Regions from separate parts of the Homo sapiens genome. Here all the other regions are linked to region 1. The links are contacts of gene promoters, found by promoter capture Hi-C in human tissues and cell types (Jung and others, 2019). All regions are on one chromosome and are shown on one strand. The core of a region is centred on a gene start or on the middle of the fragment in contact, and the rest is flanking DNA. Distances in the headings are between cores, read along the strand shown.

Region 1 (4,625 bases), core at 1,434-3,933:
TCCTCTACTACTTTCTGCAGAAACAATTAGGTTTTTTTGTGGGGGAGGGTGTTGGGGTGCAAAGGTGTACACACATATCCGTAGGCAGCAGGTGGGTTGGGGTACAAAACAGGAGTCCTCACCTCACCAAAGCTTGTCAATCCGCTGACGTTGGTGTACATGTGGTGTCTGAACTTGGTGGAACTCTCTGCCCTGCAGGACAGCCATGGAAGGGCAATTTAGCTGATCACACCTTGGGCCATCACAGCCTGGGGGCCCTGGCTCTATCCATCCATCCTGCTTCCAGAACAGGTGCAGAACCAGCTGCTTTCTGGGATTGTGAGGGACCCACTGGGTGTCCAGCCTCCCTCTGCGGACCCCTTCATCCTCAACGGCTTGGTCACACCCATGCCAGGAATGGGGCAGTTTCCACACCATGCCATCTAGCATCCTGGCCAGGTGTTATGCTCACCATGGTGTACTGCAGGTGAAGGTAAGTGTCAGGTAGCGCACCCCCAGCACATAGAAACTGCGCAGCACAGAGAGGCTGCTGTCCAGTGAGTGACCACCCTCCACGCCAATGAGGCAGGCCAGCTTTTGAGAGCTGTTCAGACCTAGAAGGAGGTAGAGAGTCAAGTGGTTAGATCCCAGGAACAGAACCTCCAGAGTGACATCCTGACTACCTCTCATCTGCTGGCCCACCTTCAGCTGAGGTCACAAGCTCGAGTTCAGAGTAGGAGGCACACATGCGGTGAATGAGGTCAATCTGCTCCAGGGCGAGGCGCACGGCAGTCTGGTCCTGGGACTGGCATGAGACGGAGGCTGACCAGAACTGAGGGTAGGTCAAGGGGTCCAGAATGAGGCCAGGGCGGTCTTCAACCCCCTAGGCCTGCCACTCCTGCCTCAGACCCCATAACACCCATTTGGGTCAGTGGCCCCAAGTGAGGCACTACATGACTCCATGGTACCTTGATGACTTTTTTTAAAATTATTTTTTATTTTTATTTTAAAATTTGAGACAGGGTCTTGCTCTGTCACCCAGGCTAGAGTGCAGTGGTGTGATCATGGCTCACTGCAGCCTTGACCCCCCAGGCTCAAACAATCCTCCTGCCTCAGCCTCCCAAAGTGTTGGCATTACAGATGTGAACTACCGAGCCTGGTTCCTTGATGACTGTTTGCTGCCAGCAGTCAAATGATGGACTCACGACACATCATAAATTACTGTTACGGCCAGGCCAAGTGGCTCATGCCTGTAATCTCCACACTGTGGGAGGCCGAGGAGGGTGGATCATGTGAGGTCAGGAGTTCGAGACCAGCCTGGCCAACATGGTAAAACCCTGTCTCTACTAAAACTACAAAAATTAGCAGGGCGTGGTGGCGAGTGCCTGTAATCCCAGCTACTCAGGAGGCTGAGGCAGGGAGAATTGCTTGAACCCGGGAGGCGGAGGTTGCAGTGAACCGAGATCGTGCCACTGTACTCCAGCCTGGGCGACAGAAGGAGACACTGTCTCAAAAATGCAAACAAACAAACAAGCAAAAAACTGCTGTTAGTCCATGTGCTATGTGAATGCCCCAAGGCCAATCCACTATGTCCTTTGTGGTTACGGCAGACCCCACACTCACCAGGGATTTTCTGGTCATTTTCTGCGTGTTTCCACAGAACCTGGGCATACATGCAGCTAGCCTGTCTTGGCCTCCAAGGCCCCACTCTCCTTAGAAACCACATGATGGCACACTGCATGCCCCATTGTATTTAGTCACCCAGAGGCTGGCTGACCCAGGTTTCTGTGACCCCAACATCCCCCAGCAGCCATGCTGTGGCACCCTGTGTGTCCCTGTGGTACCTGGGCACCCACGAGGCCGTCTCTAAGCCTGTCCAGGCTGGTCTGACCATGGCTGAAATTTCGCAGGTTAACATCCTGAAGCACATTCTTGTAACGCTGTCTCAGGACCTGGGGCAGGTCATTGTGGCTGGGGGTGTGAAGGTCAGATGGAAACACCGCCTCCAGATCAGTCAGGATATATCAGGTGCTTGGGTCTACCCTCCTCCACCCCACCAGGCACCTCCTCACACAGACCATATAGAGACCTCCTGAGGTTGGGTTGGAGGGAGGGGGTTAGATTCCACCAGGAATGGAGTAATGCGGGGAAGGGCACCCATGGGTGATGGAGGAGAGAGGGCATCCAGGGGTGGTGTGAGGGAGCCTCCTTGATAGCCTCCTTGATAGCATGCTCAGAACCTCCTCTCCTGCCCAAGGGTGTGCTCACCCCGCGTTGCCCAAACGCTGCACCTACATACCCGTCCACGAGTGGGAAACTCCGCATCAGGGCCTGCGCGCGACCCCGAAGGTCCAGGGTTTTGGGGGTGCCTGGCGTAGTGAGGCCTGGGGTAGTGAGGGCGCTGGGGACACCCGGCGTGGTGAAGAGGCTGGGGGAGCCCAGCGTGGAGAGGGCTCTGGGGGCGCCCGGCGTGGTCTCCGCGCGGGTTACGGGCTGCCGCAGCAGCAGCAGCAGTAGCAGGAGCAGCAGACGCCGCAGATACCGCCGGCTGAGCGCGCGGGAACCCTCGCGGCCCGTGGGCTGCATGTTGCGCGGGGGTCGGCCGCGGGAGCCTGGGAGGAGCAGGCGATGGGCAGAGGCCGACAATGGGGTCCGGATCATGACGACCCAGCCTCCCGAAGAGGGGGTTGAAGTCACGCGACTCTGAGACCGACGCGCCACGCAAGGGGGCGCCACGGCTTTTCCGCCCCCAAGCAGGAGAGCGCCCCCATGGGCCGGAACCGCCGCTGCAGCGTCGAGGACTCCTCGCCCTTCCACCCCCAGCGCTGGCTCCGTAGACCCCCACACGAGTGGGGGAGGAGGCCAGGCAGGGAACTAGTAGGGGCCCAGGGATCTTCCTGATCTCACCTCCTACCCAGGCCCACGTGGCGGTTAGCTGCCGGCTTGTGCCCAGCTCCTAGGCAGGTCAAATATTCTAAGCTGCGACTCAGAAGAGTTAATTCGGTCTGTCTGGTTTGATGGACAGAAAGATTCCCTATAGGTATTTCATTTCATTTCATTTCATTTCATTTCATTTCATTATTTCATTTCATCTCATTTCAGTTTTGAGACGGAGTTTGGGTCTTGTTGCCCAGGCTGGAGTGCAATGATGCAGTCTCGGCTCACTGCAACCTCCACGTCCCGGGTTCAAGCCATTTTCCTGCCTCAGCCTCCCGAGTAGCTGGGATTACAGGTGCCCGCCACCATGCCCAGCTAATTTTTGTATTTTCAGTAGAGATGGGGTTTTACCATGTTGGCCAGGCTGGCCTTGAACTCCTGACCTCAAGTGATCCTCCTGCCTCGACCTCCCAAAGTGCTGGGATTACAGGCGTGAGCCACCGTGCCCGGCCCCGAAAATGAAATTTAAGAACAATTTTTGTTGGGGATCATTATTTTAGCTTTTTTTCCTTCTCCAAGAGACAGAGTATCTGTCACCCAGGCTGGAGTTGCAGTGGGGTGATCATAGCTTGCTGCAGCCTTGATCATAGCTTGCTGCAGCCTTGAACTTCTGAGCTCAAGCGATCCTCCTTCCTCCACCTCCCAAGTAGCTGAGACTATAGGTGCAGTGCCACCATGCATGGCTAATTGTTATTTTTTATTTTATTAAAACAAATTTTTTTTTGAGACAGGGTCTCACTGGAGTGCAGTGGCACCATCTCAGCTCACTGTAGCCTCGACCTCCCAGGTAAAAGTGATCCTCCTGCTTCAGCTCCCTAAGTAGCTGGGAGGGACTACAGGCATGCACCACCATGCCCAGCTAATTTTTGTATATTTGCATTTTTTTTTAGAGACAGGGTTTTACCATGTTGCCCAGACTGGTCTTGAACTCCTGAGCTCAAGCGATCTGCCCACCTAGGTCTCCCAAAGTGCTAGGATTACAGGCATGAGCCACCACGTCCGGCCTTATTTCTTTTTTAGAGACGTGGTTTTTTTTTTGAGACGGAGTCTCACTGTGCCACCCAGGCTGGAGTGCAGTGGCTCCATCTCTGCTCACTGCAAGCTCCGCCTCCCGGGTTCATGCCAGTCTCCTGCCTCAGCCTCCCGAGTAGCTGGGACTACAGGCGCCCACCACCATGCCCAGCTAATTTTTTGTATTTTTAGTAGAGACCGGGTTTCACCGTGTTAGCCAGGATGGTCTTGATCTCCTGACCTCGTGATCCGCCCACCTTGGCCTCCCAAAGTTCCGGGATTACAGGCGTGAGCCACCGCACCGGGCCGAATATTTTTTTCTATATATATGTTAGTATACAGACACAAAAATGAGAGGTGACAGCGTGCTGGCAGCCCTCACAGCCCTCGCTCCCTCTCGGCACCTCCTCGGCCTTGGCGCCCACTCTGGCCGCGTTTGAGGAGCCCTTCAGCCCGTCGCTGCACTGTGGGAGCCCCTTTCTGGGCTGGACAAGGCTGGAGCCGGCTCCCTCAGCTTGCGGGTAGGTGTGGAGAGAGAGGCGTGGGCGGGAACCGTGGCTGCAGGCTGCGCTTGCGGGCCAGCTCGAGTTCCGGGTGGGCGTGGGCTTGGCAAGCCCCGCACTCGGAGCGGCCAGCCGGCCCGGGCAGTGAGGAGCTTAGCACCTGGGCCAGCAGCTGCTGTGCTCGACTTCTCGCTG
Region 2 (4,625 bases), core at 1,544-4,043, 230 kb after region 1:
TCTATTAGATTGTTGATCCTTCCTCTTACTGATTTATAGAAGCCCTTTGTTAGGTGCATTAGCTCATTGAGGTATGAGTTGAATGTATCCAGATTTATAAATTTTAAAAGAGGGATTTACAAAAGTCCTCTAAGTCTTGCTTTAAGTTAATGGTTAGAGCTGTGAAAACCTAATTAAGTCATTTCACACAATGTTCTCCCATGAGAAAATCCAAAGTTTGTTTAAAATTCAAAATTTACCATTTTAATCATTTTAAGTGTATAGCTAAGTGGCATTAAATACATTCACAATATTGTATAACCACCACCACTTTCTATTTCCAGAAGTTTTTCATCACCCAAACTACAACTCTATTAAAGTAATAACTACTCATTTCCTTCCCGTCCTCCCAGCCCCTGGTAACCTGTACTCTGCTTTCTGTCTCTATGAATTTCCCTACTCTAGATACTTCATATAAGTGGGATTACACAATGTTTTTCCTTTTTTGTCTGGCTTATTTCACTTAGCATAATGTTTTCAAGGCTCATCCATATTGTAAGCATACGGAGGAATAATCTATTGGAATATTTTTATATAGCATATTATTTACATATAATATTCCATATGGAGGAATAATATTCAATTTTTTGTGTACACCACATCTTGTTTATCCATTCATCTGGTGAAAAATAATTTGGGCCTAGGCACAGTAGCTCACGTCTCTAATCCCAGCACATTGGGAAGCTGAGGTGGGTGGATTGCCTGAGCCCAGAAGATCAGGACCAGCCTGGGCAACATGGCGAGACCCCATGTCTATAAAAAATTTAAAAATTAGTTGGGCGTGGTGGTGTGCGCCTGTAGTTCTAGCTACTCAGGAGGCTGAGATGAGAGGATCACCTGAGCTTAGGAGATGGAGGTTGCAGTGAGCTGAGATTGCACCATGCACTCCAACCCGGGCAACAGAGACCCTGTCTCAAAAAAAGTTGATGAACGCATACATATTAAAAAAAAAAAAAAAAAAAGATGGACAGGGCTCGGTGGCTCACGCCTGTAATCCCAGCACCTGGGAGGCTGAGGCAGGTGGATCACCTCAGGTCAGGAGTTCGAGACCAGCCTGACCAACACGGTGAAACCCCATCTCTACTAAAAATACAAAAATTAGTTGGGCATGGTGGTGGGCGCCTGTAATCTCAGCTACTCGGAAGACTGAGACAGGAGAATCGCTTGAGCCTGGGAGGCAAAGGTTGCAGTGAGCCGAGACCATGCCATTGCACTCCAGCCTAGGCAACAAGAGCAAAACTCCATCTCAAAAAAAAAAAAAAGATAATTTGTATTGTTTCCCTCTCGGCTGTTGGGAATAATGCTGCTGTGAACACTGGCATACATACTGTTTGAGTCCCTCTTTTCAGTACTTTTGTGTGTTTACGTAAGAGTGGAATTGCTGGGTCCTATGGTAATTCTGTGTTCAACTTTCTTTTTGAGATGGAGTCCCACTCTGTCACCCAGGCTGGAGTGCAGTGGTGCGATCTGGGCTCACTGAAGTCTCTGCCTCCTGGGTTGAAGCGATTCTCATGCCTCAGCCTCCTGAGTAGCTGGGATTACAGGCATGTGCCATCACGCCCAGCTAATTTTTGTATTTTTAGTAAAAACGGGGTTTCACCATGTTGGCCACACTGATCTGTCTTCTGACCTCAGGTCACCCACCCTCCTCAGCCTCCCAAAGTGCTGGGATTGCAGGCGTGAGCCACCAAGCCCAGCCTCCATGTTCAACTTTTTGAGGAACCACTATTTTTTTTAATCCTACAGCAGCCACACCATTTTACATTTACAATGTATAAGGCTTTCAGTTTCTTTATACCCTTGCCAACACATGTTATTTTCCATTTTTAAAATAATAGCCATCCTACTGGGTATTAAGTTATATTCATTATAATTTTGATTTGCATTTCCCTATTGACTAATGGTGTTGAGCATCTTTTCATGTGCCTGTTGTCCATTTGTATATTTTCTTGTCTATCCAAATCCTTTATTTTATTTATTTATTTATTTTTGAGACGGAATCTGGCTGTGTCACCCAAGCTGGAGTGTAGTGGCATGACCTTGGCTCACTGCAGCCTCCACCTCCCAAGTTCAAGCGATTCTCCTGCCTCAGCCTCCTGAGTAGCTGGGTTTACAGGCTCACACCACCACGCCTGGCTAATTTTTTGTATTTTTATTAGAGATGGGGTTTCTCCATATTAGTCAGGCTGGTCTCAAACTCCTGACCTCAGGTGAGCCACCCGCCTTAGCCTCCCAAAGTGCAGGGTTATAGGCATGAGCCACCATGCCCGGTCTAGTTTTCAATGTAGAAATCTTATGCCTCTTTGGTTAATTCCTAAGTATTTTATTCTTTTTGATGCCACTGTAAATAGAATTGTTTTTCTTAAGATTGGGCACAGCGGCTCACACTTGTAATCCCAGCACTTTGGGAGGCTGAGGCAGGCTGATCACCTGAGTTCAGGAGTTCAAGACCAACCTGGCTAACGTGGGCCCACCTGGCCAACATGGGGAAACTCTGTCTCTACTAAAAATACAAAAATTAGCTGGGTGTGGTGGCATATGCCTGTAATCCCAGCTATTTGTGGGACTGAGGCAGGAGAATCGCTTGAACCTGGGAGACAGAAGTTGGAGTGAACCAAGATTATGCCACTGCACTCCAGCCTGAGACTCCGTCTCAAAAACAAACCAAAAAAAAAAACCCCAAAACAAGAATTGTTTTCTTAATTTTTTTTGGACCTTTCATTCCAAGTATATAGAAGTACAACTGAATATTGTGTGTTGATTCTATATTCTGCCACTTTGGTGACTTTATTTGTTAGTGCTAACATTTTTTTGTCTGTGTGGATTCTTTAGAGTTTTATGTTTATACTATCATGCCATTCGTGAATAGAGATAATTTTCTCTCTTCCTTTTTAATTTGGATGGGCTTTATGTATTTATTTATTTTTCTAACCTAATTGCTCTGGCTAGAACTTCTAGTGGTAGGCTAGTAGAAGTGGTGAAAGAGTGGGCATCTTTGCTTTGTTTGTGATCTTAGGGGGAAAGCTTTTGTTCTTTGTTGATAATGATAGGAACTAACAGTTTTTCATATATGGCCTTTTTCATATTGAGGAAATTCCTTCTATTCTTTGTTTATTGAATGTTTTCATCTTGAAAGAGCATTGAATTTTGATAAATGAGTTGGGCACGGTGGCTCACGCCTGTGATACCAGCACTTTGGGAGGCTGAGGCGGGCAGATAGCTAGAACCCAGGAGGTGGAGGCTGCAGTGAGCCGTGATTGGGATGCTACTGCACTCCAGCCTGGGCAACAGAGTGAGACCGTCTCAAAGAAAAAGAGTTCTTTCCCTGCCACTGCTGAGTTGAGTGGAGGCAGAGGCTTGGGTGCATTCAAGATTCAGCTTCACCCGTAGACCACCACCATGGCCACGGAAGGTGTTGCTGCTGGAGGTGTGGTGGCTGTTAATACTGCTTTACAAGAGGTGTTGAAGACTGTCCTCACCCATGATGGCCTAGCACGTGGAATTTGCAAAGCTGCTGAAGGGTCAGGCCCATCTTTTGTGTGTTTGCATCCAACTGTGATGAGCCTATGTCAAGTTCATAGAGGTTCTTTGTGCTGAACACCAAATCAACCTACTTAAGGTTGATGACAAGAAGCTAGGGGGAATGGTTAGGTCTCTGTAAAATTGACAGAGAGGGGAAACCCCGTAAAGTGGTTCGTTGCAGTTGTGTAGTAGTTGAAGTACTTCAAATGCAAGAAATGAACGAATAAAACTCTGGCTAACCCCCCTGCCCCCCAACACACACACAGACACACACACACACACACTCACAGTCACACTCACTCTGGGCATGTTGGCTCAATCCTGTAGTCCTAGCACTTTGGGAGGCCGAGGTGGGCAGATTGCTCGAGCCCAAGAGTTCAAGACCAGCCTGGGCAACATGAAATCCCATCTCTGCTAAAAATACAAAAAATGGCCAGGTGCAGTGGCTCGCGCCTGTAATCCCAGCACTTTGGGAGGCCGAGGTGGGCGGATCACGAGGTCGGGACATTGAGACCATCCTGGCTAACACAGTGAAACTCCATCTCTACTGAAAATACAAAAAAATTAGCTGGGCATGGTGGCGGGCACCTGTAGTCCCAGCTACTCGGGAGGCTGAGGCAGGAGAATGGCGTGAACCCGGAAGGCGGAGCTTGCAGTGAGCCAAGATCATGCCACTGCGCTCCAGCCTGGGCGACAGAGTGAGATTCCTTCTCAAAAAAAAAAAAAGAAAAAAAAAAAGAATACAAAAAATTAGCCAGGTGCTGTGGTCCCAAATACTTGGGAAGCTGAAGTGGGAGGATTGCTTGAGCCTGGGAGGTAGAGGCTGCAGTGAGCCATTATTGTGCCACTGCACACCAGCCTTGGTGACAGAGTGACACCTTGTCTCAAAAAAAATAAAAGAATTTTTACAAACACTTTTCTGCATCTATCGAGATGATCATGTGGTTTTTAAATTAATTTTTGTAGAGGTAGGGTCTTGCCATGTTGCCCATGCCAGTCAGGAGTATGTTTTTTTTTCTTTTGTTCAACTAATTTGGCATATTACTTTAATTGATTTTCATTTG
Region 3 (4,625 bases), core at 1,258-3,757, 170 kb after region 1:
CCAGGAGTTTAAGGCCAGCCTGGGCAACATAGCAAGACCTTGTCTCCCAAAAGAAAAAAAAAAAGGATTTTTTTTAAAAAGCTTATATATTATACAGTGGTAAGTTTTATTAAGGTATACATATTTTGAATCTTATCCCAAAAGTTACTGAAATTTGAAAAATGAAGTTTGTATTATTTTTTCATTTTTATGCATACTTTCATTTTAAGCAATTTATATTATAGAAATTTAATTTTGTATTTTTAGTATTTCTACAATGTGTTGTCATGGGTCTAATATATTTAGAGCCCATTCCCCCAACTAATCAGCAGAACTGATAATGGAACTGCTCTTATTGAAGTTGCTGTAGTCTGTCCTGTAGTGACCTTCAGGCTTTAACCCTCCAGCTTTAGTTAAATTAAGCAGGCACAGACCTTTGCTATGGAAACGATACAGAAACATAACAAACAACTTGGCTTACTTTCTTCTGCGAAGCAGAGGGTGGACTGAAGAGATTACTGATACTGGTGAAAGTTTTTAGAGACTAGTGTTAACAGTAGTAGTAATTTATTTATTGCCTACAACATAAATGCTTCTCTGGAAATCAGATGGGATAATAGTCTAATTAGTTTATTTGATCTTCCTTTAAAAGTCTCTCAGATAGAAAGGCATAGCCCTATTTTTCTTATGGTATTATACATCTGGAACAGATGTTGGTCAAAATATGTGTTATGAAATATATTCCCTTTGAAATCTTATATGAGTGATTACCTTCCCCCAACATCAGTTTATTTTATCAAAGTATAAAAAGCAAGTGGCTTATGACTTTGTGAAGCTCTTATACATGTCAGCCATCTAATATGACTAGGATTCTTTGGTATAGAGTACTTGCCAGTATGTTATTTGATATCTGGATAACTTAATAGGTAATAGCAAACTTTTTTATTTATATTCTCTATTTTAGATTTAACTACCTCATTTTGACGAGCTACTTTAATGCCTATAATTTTTTTGTTGGTTTTTTCTTTTTCTATATAAGAGCAAATTGCCTACAGTTCTTTTAGAAATAATGTATTGACTAACTTCATGAGTTATTTTGCTTCACCAAATTGTACTCTGTTATTCTAAAATTTATTCTTTCAACAATGATTGAATGCCTGTAATGTGCTAGGCGCTCTGCTAGGCTCTGGAGATAACAAGATGGATACTGTCCTCTTCACAGTGCTCACAGGCAAGTGGTAAAGTTGTTGCTGTTTATTTCTCCACTTGATGAACAGTTGGTCATGTAGAATAATTTGTTAAATTTATGATTAAACATGAAAGAGCAACAGGTATACCAAAAAGGAATGACTAATCACTGAATAGATGAATGTGAGGAAGTTGCCTAATCATTGTTAGCTTCAGATTATCTGTGAACTGAAAAAAAAAAAAAAAAAAAGACATATAGTCCACAGGAGTTTTTGGATGCAGTGAACTATAACCACTCTCTACCTTCATTTTTTTTTACCTCTGGGTATAAATCTGGATGAATCTCACGTGGCATTATTACTTACCCCATCTGCCGCCAGATAAACCAAAAGAGTAATGGCTGAAATTTGTTTTTGCACAGATACACATAAAATATATGCCCAAACTTTTCCAGTTTCCTTTTAGCTATTGATTTATTTAGGATTTATTTATTTATTTATTTAGAGATGGAGTTTTGCTCTTGTTTTGCACTCCAGGCTGGAGTGCAATGGCGCGATCTCGGCTCACTGCAACCTCCGCCTCCTGGGTTCAAGCGATTCTCCTGCCTCAGTCTTCCTGAGTAGCTGGGATTAGAGGCATTCGCCACCATGCCCGGCTAATTTTGTATTTTTAGTAGAGATGGGGTTTCTCCATGTTGGTCAGGCTGGTCTCGAACTCCCGACCTCGGGTGATCCACCTGCCTAGGCCTCCCAAAGTGCTGGGATTACAGGTGTGAGCCACCGTGCCTGACCTAGGCTTTATTTTTGTTATTGTGATGATATTGACATTTTATAGTTTTATGGAATAGTTTCCATAATTAAAGCTTTGAAATTTATTAATTTTACACTAAAATGTGTAAAAAAATTACAAATGAGAATACTGATAGATTTCTTGACTACATAAAAATTAAAATATTTACAGAAAATGGAAACATAAATGTAATAAATTGAACAGGTTTACTTTCACTAAACATAAGACAGCTGTAGCTTAAGCCTGCTGGCAGGTGAGAAAGAACCAATAAGCAAGCAGCACAAGTCATTTTGCATCTGAGAACTCTGGAAAGGTTCAGGAATTTGACGTACTGGATATCTCTGAAAGTGGGATGTGAGGTGAGACTGAAAACAAGAAGATTGGATAAAAAGTCTATAAAAGAAGGAGTTAAGACCGGGCACGGTGGTTCACACCTGTAATCCTAGCACCTTAGGAGGTTGAGGCGGGTGGATCATTTGAGGACAGGAGTTTGGGACCACCTGGCCAACATGGTGAAACCCTGTCTCTACTAAAAATACAAAAAAATTAGCCGGGCATGGTGGCTCATGCCTGTAGTTCCAGCTACTCAGGAGGCTGAGGCAGAAGAATTGCTTGAACCTGGGAGGTGGAGGTTGCAGCACCACTGCACTCCAGCCTGGGCAACACAGCGAGACTCCATCTTAAAAGAAAAAAAAATTAAATTGAATTTAAAAAGGACTTAAATTTCCCAGATGTTTCTTTCCTGTGTGGTACAGCCTAGTGATAATGCCTGTCTTACCCTGAGAGAATCTGGTGATTCTATAGAGAGAATGAAGTGGAGGTTCTAGATTCTAGGAGAGCTAAAGGCTAGGCTTAATGATCTGTTCTTAAAATGGGGTGGGGGCGGAAGGGAAGGCATAATGGAAGTCTGCATACTGAAGAGTGAGACCTCTGACCATTTTATTAGTTCCCACAATGCTTGCAATAGGTTTACTATGCTCCCTAGGCAGAAGACTGCAGGATGTGTTTTAGGCAAACTCACTGGTCCAGTAGAAGAGACCTGTAGATTCTAAGAAATAAACTTTACTTTTAACATGTTTAAATTACTGTTACTTTGGATTTTTGTTTATGCAGCCAAACTTAATCCTAATATAAAAGGCAATTATTAACTGTAACCAAATAAGTTGTATGAAAAAGGAAATATAATTAAAATACACTACAAGGCTGAGCTGCAAGTAACATGTATCCAGTTATAATGCAAACACTGAAAGTTCAAAAGATAATATATCTAACCTTGAAAAACATTAGGAAATAGCAGTATTAACATGTTCCTTAGAAATATGGAAGTAAGTTCCAAAAGAAACAGTGAAAAGGGTTACAAATGGTTCCCTTCTGAGGAGCAGAAATTGATCCAGAATTGGTGATAAATGGAAAACAAAACCATATTTATAACTTGTAAGGCAGACAAAGGGTTAATATGCTTAGTATATCTAAAGGGCTTGTAAAATTAATAATACTAAAATAGAAACAGAAAATGAGCAAATCATATAAACAGCCACAAAGGGGAAAAGTTGTCTGTGTAGACTATTACCACTTCTCTGTTCTTTGCTTTTTTGATAGGTTAGAAGTAGTTTTCTTATTTATTTGATATTTAATAAGATTGAGCATTTTTCCATTTATTTATTAGCTGTTTTTCCCTGCTTTATATGCTCTACTTATATCCTTTGAGAAGGGTAGTTGGAATTACGATTTGTCATCTTCCTTGAATCTGGAATTGTTTCTGCAGTATGAATTATAATAAAGAATCTTGCCCGTTGCAAAACATTATTATAAACCTTTGGTGGTTATATCCTGAGGTCTTTGTGCCTCTTTGGTTACAAGTCTTCTAGATCAGTGTCTCTCAGCTCTATCAGACCCAGCCCCACTCTCAAAAAAAGCCCCACATCCATTTTGTAATGCTACTTTATTAACTTGAAATGGAGATTTAAAGATAATACAATTAGGCCAGGCACAGTGGCTCATGCCCGTAATACCAGCATTTTGGAAGGCCAAGGCAGGAGGATCACTTGAAACCAAGAGTTTAAGACCAGCCAGGGCAACCTAGTGGGACTTCTATATCTAAAAAAAAAAAAAAAAAAAAAAAGCTAGGTTTGGTGGCACACTCCTGATGTCCTAGCTACTCTAGAGACTGAAGTGGAAGGATCCTTTGAGCCCAGAAACTCAGGGTTGTGTTGAGCTATGATTGTGCCATTGCACTGTAGCTTAGGTGACATAACGAGACCCTGAATCAAAAAAAAAAAGTGATATAATTGACTACACGTATAATTTTAAGAATATCAGTTATAATGCAGTACTATTAAGAGAAAAATAAATATATAAACTAAATTATAGTTGATGTGGTTTGGCTATGTCTCCACCCAAAATCTCATCTTGAATTGTAATCCCCATAATTCCCACGTGTGAAGGGAGAGGCCAGATGGGGGTAATTGAATCACTGGGGTGGCTTCCCCATGCTGTTCTCTTGATAGTGAGTTCTCATGAGATCTGATGGCTTTGTAAGTGTTTGGTAGTTTTTCCTGTATTCATTCTCCCTCCTGCCACCTTGTGAAGAAGGTGCCTTGGTTCCCCTTTACCTTCAACCATGACTGTAAATTTCCTGAGGCCCCCCCAGCCATGGGGGACTGTGAGTC
Region 4 (4,625 bases), core at 1,043-3,542, 160 kb before region 1:
GCCCGGCCAAGGACTGGTCTTTTACAAGTCTGAAAAACGGCCGGGCGCGGTGGCTCACGCCTGTAATCCCAGCACTTTGGGAGGCCGAAGTGGGTGGATCACCTGAGGTCAGGGGTTCAAGACCACCCTGGGCAACATGGTGAAACTCCGTTTCTACTAAAAATACAAAATTTGCCGGGTGTGGTGGTGCGTGCCTGCAGTCTCTTCGGGAGGCTGAGGCAGGAGAATTGCTTGAACTTGGGAGGTGGAGGTTGCAGTGAGCCAAGATAGTGCCACTGCGCTCCAGCCTGGGCAACAGAGTGAGGCTCCGTCTCAAAATAAATGAATAAATAAAAACAAATAATAAAAAATAGTCTGGGCCGGGCGCAGTGGCTCACACCTGTAATCCCAGCATTTTGGGAGGCTGAGGTGGGCAGATCACTAGGTCAGGAGTTCAAGACCAGCCTGGCCAACATGGTGAAACCCCATCTCTACTAAAAATACAAAAATTAGCTGGGCGTGGTGGCATGCGCCTGTAATTCCGGCTACTCGGGAGGCTGAGGCAGGACAATCACTTGAACCCAGGAGGTGGAGGCTGCAGTGAGCAGAGATTGTGCCACTGCACCCCAGCCTGGGCGACAGAGCGAGACTCAGTCTCAAAAAAATAAATAAATAAAATTCTGAAAAACAAGGCTGGCTCACACCTGTAATCCTAACACTTTGGGAGGCCAAAGAAGGAAGACTGCTTGAGACCAGGAGTTTGAGACCAGCCTGGCAACACAGGGAGATTTCATCTCTACAAAAAAGATTTTTTAAATTAACCAGGAATGGTGGTGTGCCCATGTAGTCCTAGCTACTCAGGAGACTGAGGTGGGAGGATCTCTTGAGCCCGGGAGTTTGTAGTTACTGTGAGGTGTTATTGGGTCACTGCACTCCAGCCTGGGTGACAGAGTAAGACCCTGTCTCTAAGAAAAAAATAAAAAATAAACTCCCAGGTGTCTTCCAGGGTTATTTTGTGCTTTTATAAAAATTAGGCTGGGCATCATGACTCAAGCCTGTAATCCCAGCACTTTGGGAGGACAAGGTAGGAGGATCTCTTGATCCCAGGACAGTTCGAGAAGCCCAGCGTGGGCAACATAGTGAGACCCCATCCTTTTTTTTTTTTTTTTTTGAGACAGAGTCTCTCTCTGTCGCCCAGACTGGAGTACAGTCGTGCCATGTCTGCTCACTGTGGCCTCTGCCTCCAGGGTTGAGGCAATTCTTCTGCCTCGGCCTCCGAAATAGCTGGGATTACAGGCGTGCACTACCAGGCCTGGTTAATTTTTGTATTTTTAGTAGAGATGGGGTTTCAACATGTTGGCCAGGCTGGCCTCAAATTCCTGGCCTCAGGTTATCCGCTTGCCTCCGCCTCCCAAAGTGCTGGGAATCAGGCGTGAGCTGGGCGCGATGGCTCACACTTGTAATCTCTACTAAAAATACAAAAGAACTGGGCATGGTGGCAGGCCAGCTACTCGGGAGTCTGAGGCAGGAGAATTGCTTGAACTCAAGAGGCAGAGCTGCAGTGAGCAGAGATCGTGCTACTGTACTGCACTCCAGCTTGGGCAACTCCAGCTTGGCAACTCCATCTCAAATAAATAAATAAATACATACATATAAACATACATACATAAATAATTACATCCATTTTGATAGTCTTTTTTTTTTTTTTTTGAGATGGAGTTTCACTCTTGTCCCCGTGGCTGGAGTGCAAGGGGTCGATCCCAGCTCACTGCAACCTCTGCCTCCCGAGTTCAAGCGATTCTCCTGCCTCAGCCTCCCGAGTAACTGGGAATACAGGCGTGTGCCACCATGCCCGGCTAATTTTTGTATTTTTAGTAGAGATGGAGTTTCACCATGTTGGCCAGGCTGGTCTCAAATTCCTGACCTCAAGTGATCTGCCCACCTTGGCCTCAAAGTGCTAAAAGTCGCACATCTTGGCCTCCCAAACTGCTGGGATTACGGGCATGAGCCACTGTGCCCGGCCAGAATAGCTAATCTTTACTGAGTTCCTAGCAAGTACCAGGGTCCATGTGAAGCACACATTATGCTTTCCCTCTTTTTTTTTTTTTTTTTTTGAGACAGAGTTTTGTTCTTGTTGTCCAGGCTGGAGTGCAATGGTGCAATCTCAGCTCACCGCAACCTCCGCTTCCCGGGTTCAAGGGATTCTCCTGCCTCAGCCTCCTGAGTAGCTGGGACTATAAGCACATGCCACCACACCTGGCTAAATTTTTTTTTTTTTTTTTTTTTTGAGACTGAGTCTCGCTCTGTCGCCAGGCTGGAGTGCAGTGGCGCAATCTTGGCTCACTGCAAACTCCGCCTCCTGGGTTCATGCCATTCTCCTGCCTCAGCCTCCAGAGTAGCTGGGACTACAGGTGTCCGACACCACGCCCGGCTAATTTTTTGTATTTTTAGTAGAGACGGGGTTTCACTGTGTTAACCAGGATGGTCTCGATCTCCTGACCTCGTGATCCATCCGCCTTGGCCTTGCAAAGTGCTGGGATTACAGGCGTGAGCCACCATGCCCGGCCTAATTTTTTTTTGTATTTTTAGTAGAGACGGGGTTTCACCGTGTTAGCCAGGATAGTCTCGATCTCCTGACCTCGTGATCCACCCACCTCAGCCTCCGAAAGTGCTGGGAATTACAGGCGTGAGCCACCGCGCCCGACTATGCTTTCTCACTGCATCCTCACATCAATACACTGTGACAAAGACTACCATCATCCCTATTTTACAGACGTGAGAACTAAGGCTCAGAGAAGTTGTGACATAGCTAATAAGGGACATTTGAGACTTAACCCGAGTCTTCTCTAACTCAAGAACCCACAGTCTTAATTATGAACCATGTTGAGAGATGTTTGTAAAACACATCAGGGCTGGCCAGGCACAGTGGTTCACGCCTGTAATCCCAGCACTTTGGGAGGCCAAAGTGGGTGGATCACGAGGTTAAGAGTTCAAGACCAGCCTGGCCAAGATGGTGAAACCACGTCTCTACTAAAAATACAAAAATTAGATGGGTGTGGTGGTGGGTGCTTGTAATCTCAACTATTCGGGAGGCTGAGGCAGAGAACAGCTTGAACCTGGGAGGCGAAGGTTGCAGTGAGCCAAGATCGTGCCACCACACTCCAGCCTGGGCAACAGAGCAAGACTGTCTCAAAAAAAAAAAGTCAGGACTGGGGGAGGAGAGATGGAGAGAAACATTAGGAAGGGGAGCAATGTTGCCATGGCAACCCCACCTGTACCTCCCTGCAGACTGGTCAGTTCTCCATGGGTGGGCACCTGTCCCCATGGCCCACATACACCAGTGGCCAGACCATTTTGCAAAATCGAAAACCCTGTTCAGATGACTACCGGAAGCGAGTAGGGTAAGCCAGGGTCAGTCCCATGGTGGGTGAGCTGGCATGGGCCAGGCTTTGGGCCAGGAGACAGGGCAGGGGCGTGTGTTGCCCCAGACTGAGGGCACAAGGGCCCCGTGGGGGTGCTGGCCACATATCAGCCACTGTCCCCTGCAGGAGCTGCCAGCAGCACCCCTTTCGCACTGCCAAGCCCCAGTACTTGGAGGAACTGGAAAACTACCTACGCAAGGAGCTCCTCCTGCTGGACCTGGGCACAGATTCCACCCAGGAACTAAGGCTGCAGGTCAGAGCCACAGAAGAAACTTGGGGAGGGCGGGGGAAGGGTGGGAAGAAGCTTCACCTACCGGCCGGGCACAGTGGCTCACGCCTGTAATCTCAGCACTTTGGGAGGCCAAGGCGGGTGGACCACCTGAGGTCAGGAGTTCAAGACCAGCCTGGCCAACATGGCGAAACCCCGTCTCTACTAAAAGTACAAAAATTAGCCAGGCATGGTAGTGGGCACCTGTAGTCCCAGCTACTCAGGAGGCTGAGGCAGGAGAATCGCTTGAACCCTGAACCCGGGAGGCAGCGGTTGCAGTGAGACAAGATCACACCACTGCACTCCAACCTGGGCGACAAGAGTGAGACTCCGTCTCAAAAACAAAAAAAAGCCTCACCTACAAGGACTGAGCACCTCAGACCTTCAGGGGAGACCCACCTCTCCCAGCTCTCCTGGGTCTCCTTCCCTGAACAGAAGCATGAAACATCCCATGAAAATGCCAGTGAGGCCGGGCACAGTGGCTCATGCCTGTAATCCCAGCACTTCGGGAGGCTGAGGCAGGAGGATCGCTTGAGGTCAGGAGTTCAAGACCAGCCTGGTCAACATGGTGAAACCCTGCCTCTACTAAAAATACAAAACCTGCAGTGGTGGTACACACCTGTAGTCCCAGCTACTCAGGAGGCTGAGGCAGGAGAATTGCTTGAACCCAGGCGGCAGAGGTTGCAGTGAGCCGAGATCATGCCACTGCACTACAGCCTGGGCAACAGAGTGAGACTCTGTCAACAGAAAAAAGAAGGCCAGGCACGGTGGCTCACACCTGTAATCCCAGCAGTTTGGGAGGCCGAGGCAGGCGGATCACCAGGTCAGGAGATCGAGACCATCCTGGCTAACATGGTGAAACCCCGTCTCTACTAAAAATACAAAAAAATTAGCCAGGTGTGGTGGCAGGCACCTGTAGTCCCAGCTGCTCGGGAGGCTGAGGCAGGAGAATGGCA
Region 5 (4,625 bases), core at 1,159-3,658, 130 kb after region 1:
GTTTATTTGCATAAAGGTGTTTATAGTATTCTCTGTGGTGGTTTGTATTTCTGTGGGGTCAGTGGTGATATCTGCTTTATCATTTTTTATTGTGTTGATTTGATTCTTGTCTCTTTTCTTCATTAGCCTAGCCAAGCTCCTGGATGAGTTGTTTTTGTTTGTTTGTTTGTTTTGAGATGGAGTCTCACTCTGTTGCTCAGGCTGGAGTGCAGTGATACGATCTTGGCTCACTGCAACCTCCACCTCCTGGGTTCAAGCAATTCTCCTGCTTCAGCCTCTTGAGTAGGTGGGATTATAGGCACCCACCACCACACTGGGCTAATTTTTGTATTTTTAGTAGAGACAGGGTTTTACCATGTTAGCCAGGCTGGTCTTGAGCTCCTGACCTCAAGTGATCTGCCTGCCTTGGCCTCCCAAAGTGCTAGGATTACAGGTGTGAGCCACCGTGCCTGGCCTGAATTTTTTTTTTTTTTTTTCGAGACGAAGTCTCGCTCTGTTGCCCAGGCTGGAGTACAGTGGCCCAATCTCGGCTCACTGTAAGCTCCGCCTCCCGGGTTCATGCCATTCTCCTGCCTCAGCCTCCTGAGTAGCTGGGACTACAGGTGCCCACCACCACACCCGGCTAATTTTTTTTGTATTTTTTTTTAGTAGAGACGGGGTTTCATCGTGTTAGCCAGGATGGTCTCGATCTCCTGACCTTGTGATCTGCCCGCCTCAGCCTCCCAAAGTGCTGGGATTATAGGCGTGAGCCACCGCGCCCAGCCTGATTTTTTTTTTTAAGGGTTTTTTTGTGTCTCTGTCTCCTTCAGTTCTGCTCTGATCTTGGTTATGTCTTGTCTTCTGCTAGATTTGGGGTTTGTTTACTCTTGGTTCTCTAGTCTTTTAGTTGTGATATTAGGATGTCGATTTGAGTTTTTTCTGGCTTTTTGATGTGGGCATTTAGTGCTATAAATTTCCCTCTTAACACTGCTTTAGCTATATCCCAGAGATTCTGGTACATTGTCTCTTTGTTCTCATTGGTTTCAAATAACTTCTTGATTTCTGCCTTAATTTCATTTTTTACCCAGAAGTCATTCAGGGGCAGGTTGTTCAATTTCCATGTAGTTGTGTGGGTTTGAGTGAGTTTCTTAATGTTGAGTTCTAATTTGATTGCGCTGTGGTCTGAGAGACAGTTATGATTTCATTTCTTTTGCATTTGCTGAGGAGTGTTTTACTTCCAAGTATGTGATCGAATCTAGAGTAAGTGCCATGTGGCACTGAGAAGAATGTATATTCTGTTTTTGGGTAAGTCTACTTGATCACAGCTGAACTCAAGTCCTGAATATCTTTGTTAATTTTTTGTCTCGATGATCTGTCTGATATTGACAGTGGGGTGTTAAGTCTCCCACTATTGTTGTGTGGGAGTCTAAGTCTCTTTGTAGGTTTCTAAAAACTTGTTTTATGAAACTGAGTGTGCCTGTATTGGGTGCATATATATTTAGGATAGTTAGCTCTTCTTGTTGAATTGAACCCTTTACCATGCTGTATGCCCTTCTTTGTCTTTTTTTGATCTTGTTGGTTTAAAATCTGTTTTGTCAGAAACTAGGATTGCAACCCCTGCTTTTTTCCTGCCTTCCATTTGCTTTGTAAATTTTCCTCCATCTCTTTATTTTGAGCCTGTGCATGTCTTTGCATGTTAGATGGGTCTCTTGAATACAGCACACCAATGGTTCTTGTCTTTTTAGCCAGCTAACCATTTTGTGTATTTTAATTGGGGTATTTAGTCCATTTACTTTTAAGGTTAATATTGTTATGTGTGAATTTGGTCCTGTCATCATAATGCTGGCTGGTTATTTTGCAGACGTGTTAATGTAGTTGCTTCATAGTGTCATTCGTCTGTGTACTTGAGTGTGTTTTTGTAGTGGCTGATAATGGTTTTTGCTTTCCATATTTAGTGCTTCCTTCAGGAATTCTTGTAAAGCAGACCTGGTGGTGCTGAATTCCCTCATTATTTGCTTGTCTGAAAAGGACTTTATTTCTCTTTCACTTACGAAGCTTAATTTGTCCGGATATGACATTTGGGTTGGAAATTCTTTTCTAAGAATGTTGAATATTGGCATCCAATCTCTTCTGGCTTGTAGGGTTTCTGCTGAGAGGTCCACTGTTAGTTTGATGGGCTTACCTTTGTGGTGATCTGTCCTCTCTCCCTGCGCTTAACATTTTTTCCTTCATTTCAACCTTGGAGAATCTGATGATAATGTGTTTTGGGATTGATCTTCTCATGGAGTATCTTACTGGGTTTCTCTGAATTTCCTGAATTTGAATGGTGGCCTATCTTGCTAGGTTGGGGAAGTTCTCATGGATGATACCGTGAAGTATGTTTTCCGACTTGGATGCGATCTCCCCGTCTCTTTCAGGTACCCCAGTTGTAGGTTCAGTCTTTTTTTTTTTTTTTTTTTTTTTTTTTGAGATGGAGTCTTGCTGTGTTGCCCAGGCTGGAGTGCAGTGGCGTGATCTTGGCTTACTGCAACCTCCACCTCCTGGGTTCAAGCGATCCTTCTGCCTCAGCCGCCCGAGTAGCTGGGACTACAGGCACACACCACCACGCCTGGCTGATTTTTGTATTTTTAGTAGAGATGGGGTTTCACCATCTTGACCAGGCTGGTCTTGAACTCCTGGTCTCGTGATCCACCCGCCTCGGCCTCCCAAAGTGCTGGGATTATAGGCGTGAGCCACTGTGCCCAGCCAGGTTCATTCTTTTAAATAATCCCATAGTTCTTGGAGGTTTTGTTCATTTCTTTTCATTTTTTCTTTTTCGTTTTTTTTTTTTTTTTTTTTTTTGAGACGGAGTCTCGCTCTGTCGCCCAGGCCGGACTGCGGACTGCAGTGGCGCAATCTCGGCTCACTGCAAGCTCCGCTTCCTGGGTTCACGCCATTCTCCTGCCTCAGCCTCCCGACATTTTTTTTTTTTCTCTAACCTTGTTTGCCCGTCTTATTTTAGCAAGATAGTCTTCAAGCTCTGATATCCTTTCCTCTGCCTGGTCTGTTCAGCTGTTGATACTTGTGGTTGTATTGTGAAGCTCTCCTGTTGTGTTTTTCAGCTCAATCAGGTCATTTATGTTCCTCTGTATACTAGCCATTCTGGTTAACAGCTCCTGTAATGTTTTATCATGGTTTTTCGCTTCTTTGCCTTGGGTTAAAACATACTCCTTTAGCTCAGCGAAGTTTGTTATTACCTACCTTTTGAAGCCTACTTCTGTCAATTCATTCTTCTCTGCCTCAGCCCAGTTCTCTGCCCTTGATGGAGAAGTGTTGCAATCATTTAGAGAAGAGACACTCTGGCTCTTTGAGATTTCAGCGTTCTTGCATTGATTCTTTCTCATCTTTGTGGATTTATCTGCCTTTGATCTTTGAGGCTGCTGACCTTTGGATAGGGTTTTTGTGGGATCTTTTGTGTTGATGTTGTTGTTGTTGCTTTCTGTTTGTTTTTCTTTTAATAGTAAGGCCCCTCTTCCATAGGGTAGGGCTGCTGCAGTTTACTAGGGGACCACTCCTGACCTAATTCATCTACCCCCTCCTGCACCTGGAGGTATAAGCAGTGGAGGCTGCAGAACAGCAAAGATGGCTGCCTCCTCCTCTGGGAGCTTCATCCCAGAAGGCACGGAGCTGATGCTGGCTGGAACGCTCCTGTATCAGGTGCCTGGTGACCCCAGTTGGGAGGTCTCACCCAGTCAGGAGGGATGGGATCAGGAACCTGCTTAAAGAAGCAGTCTGACTGCCCCTTGGCTGAGCAGGTTCGGCTGTGCTGGGGAGAATTCCCCTCATCTGGACTGCCAACAGGCAGGAAAGACTAGGTCAGCTGAACCATGAGACCATGACCACCCCTACCCGTAGAGGCTCCTTCCCAGGGATATCAGAGTTCTGTCCATAAACTCCTGGCTAGAGTTACTGCAGTTCCTGCAAGGAGGTTCTGCCTGGTGAAGAGAGAAGGATCTGGGTCCCACCTAAGGAAACAATCTGGCCACGATCTGCCACCGCCACTGTGTTGTGCTGTGGGGAATTCCTCTTCGTCCAAACCGCCAAGTTTCCCCAACACCAGCAAAGGAAAATGGCAGACTGGAGCCGCAGTGATGGCGACTGCCCCTTTCCGTGGGAACTTGGTAGTCTTAGGCAGTGTCCAGCCTGCTGCTGCTAGCCACAACCTGAGCAGGTTGCACAGCTCTGTGCTTGGGTCCCAAGGCCTTGGTGGCGTGGGCTCATGAGGGGATTTCCTGATCCATGGGATGTACAGATCTGTGGAAAAAGTCTGGTTTCCCGCGCAGGGTAGCACAGTTACTCACCACCTCCCTTGGCTGGGTGTGGGAGTTCGCCTTTGTGGCTACCAGGTCAGGTTGTCGCTCTACCCTGCTTTTCCTAGCTCTGTGTGGATCACACCAACCACCTAGTCAGTCCCAGTGAGAGAACCTGGATACCTCAGTTGACGGAGCAGGATTCACTGGCCGTTTTTGCTCCTCTTAGTGGGAGCCGCAGACTGGAGTGGCTTCTAATCAGCCATCTTGGCTCCTCCTGCCTAAACTAGTGTTTTCTTAACTTCTTTGCAAATGTTTTTTCTTGAAGTTGTTTCTTTCACACTATTCATGGAGGCT

Evidence for each region. The method cuts DNA at HindIII sites, captures the fragments that hold promoters and counts their contacts. A contact is called where the count stands out against the background at its distance.
Region 2: a contact is called between a fragment that was not itself captured here and the fragment with the promoter of DPEP3 in region 1, in 2 of the 25 tissues and cell types used here (bladder and thymus).
Region 3: a fragment that was not itself captured here is called in contact with the fragment with the promoter of DPEP3 in region 1 in 3 of the 25 tissues and cell types used here (dorsolateral prefrontal cortex, lymphoblastoid cells and spleen).
Region 4: a fragment that was not itself captured here is called in contact with the fragment with the promoter of DPEP3 in region 1 in 1 of the 25 tissues and cell types used here (pancreas).
Region 5: a fragment that was not itself captured here is called in contact with the fragment with the promoter of DPEP3 in region 1 in 1 of the 25 tissues and cell types used here (aorta).

Annotation. Positions count from the first base shown.
Region 1 is chr16:67,977,816-67,982,440 of GRCh38, forward strand. DPEP3 (dipeptidase 3) reads right to left here and starts at 2,684. Exons shown (of 10, transcript NM_001370198.1): 1 at 2,279-2,684; 2 at 1,824-1,950; 3 at 682-811; 4 at 452-593; 5 at 123-192; 6 at 1-14. The coding sequence starts at 2,565. RefSeq lists an enhancer at 2,008-2,508. The HindIII fragment of the contact is 8,829 bases long and covers 1-4,625 here.
Region 2 is chr16:68,206,024-68,210,648 of GRCh38, forward strand. The region is part of intron 9 of NFATC3 (nuclear factor of activated T cells 3); the gene reads left to right. It also overlaps the pseudogene RPS12P27. Among named protein-coding and RNA genes, the nearest start is that of MIR6773, 25 kb to the right of the region's middle. The HindIII fragment of the contact is 3,682 bases long and covers 953-4,625 here.
Region 3 is chr16:68,146,358-68,150,982 of GRCh38, forward strand. All of the region lies in intron 3 of NFATC3 (nuclear factor of activated T cells 3), which reads left to right. Among named protein-coding and RNA genes, the nearest start is that of NFATC3, 63 kb to the left of the region's middle. The HindIII fragment of the contact is 8,254 bases long and covers 1-4,625 here.
Region 4 is chr16:67,817,572-67,822,196 of GRCh38, forward strand. It overlaps TSNAXIP1 (translin associated factor X interacting protein 1), which reads left to right. Exons shown (of 16, transcript NM_001288990.3): 3 at 3,268-3,380; 4 at 3,528-3,654. Among named protein-coding and RNA genes, the nearest start is that of TSNAXIP1, 13 kb to the left of the region's middle. The HindIII fragment of the contact is 4,075 bases long and covers 256-4,330 here.
Region 5 is chr16:68,109,850-68,114,474 of GRCh38, forward strand. All of the region lies in intron 1 of NFATC3 (nuclear factor of activated T cells 3), which reads left to right. Among named protein-coding and RNA genes, the nearest start is that of NFATC3, 27 kb to the left of the region's middle. The HindIII fragment of the contact is 6,107 bases long and covers 1-4,625 here.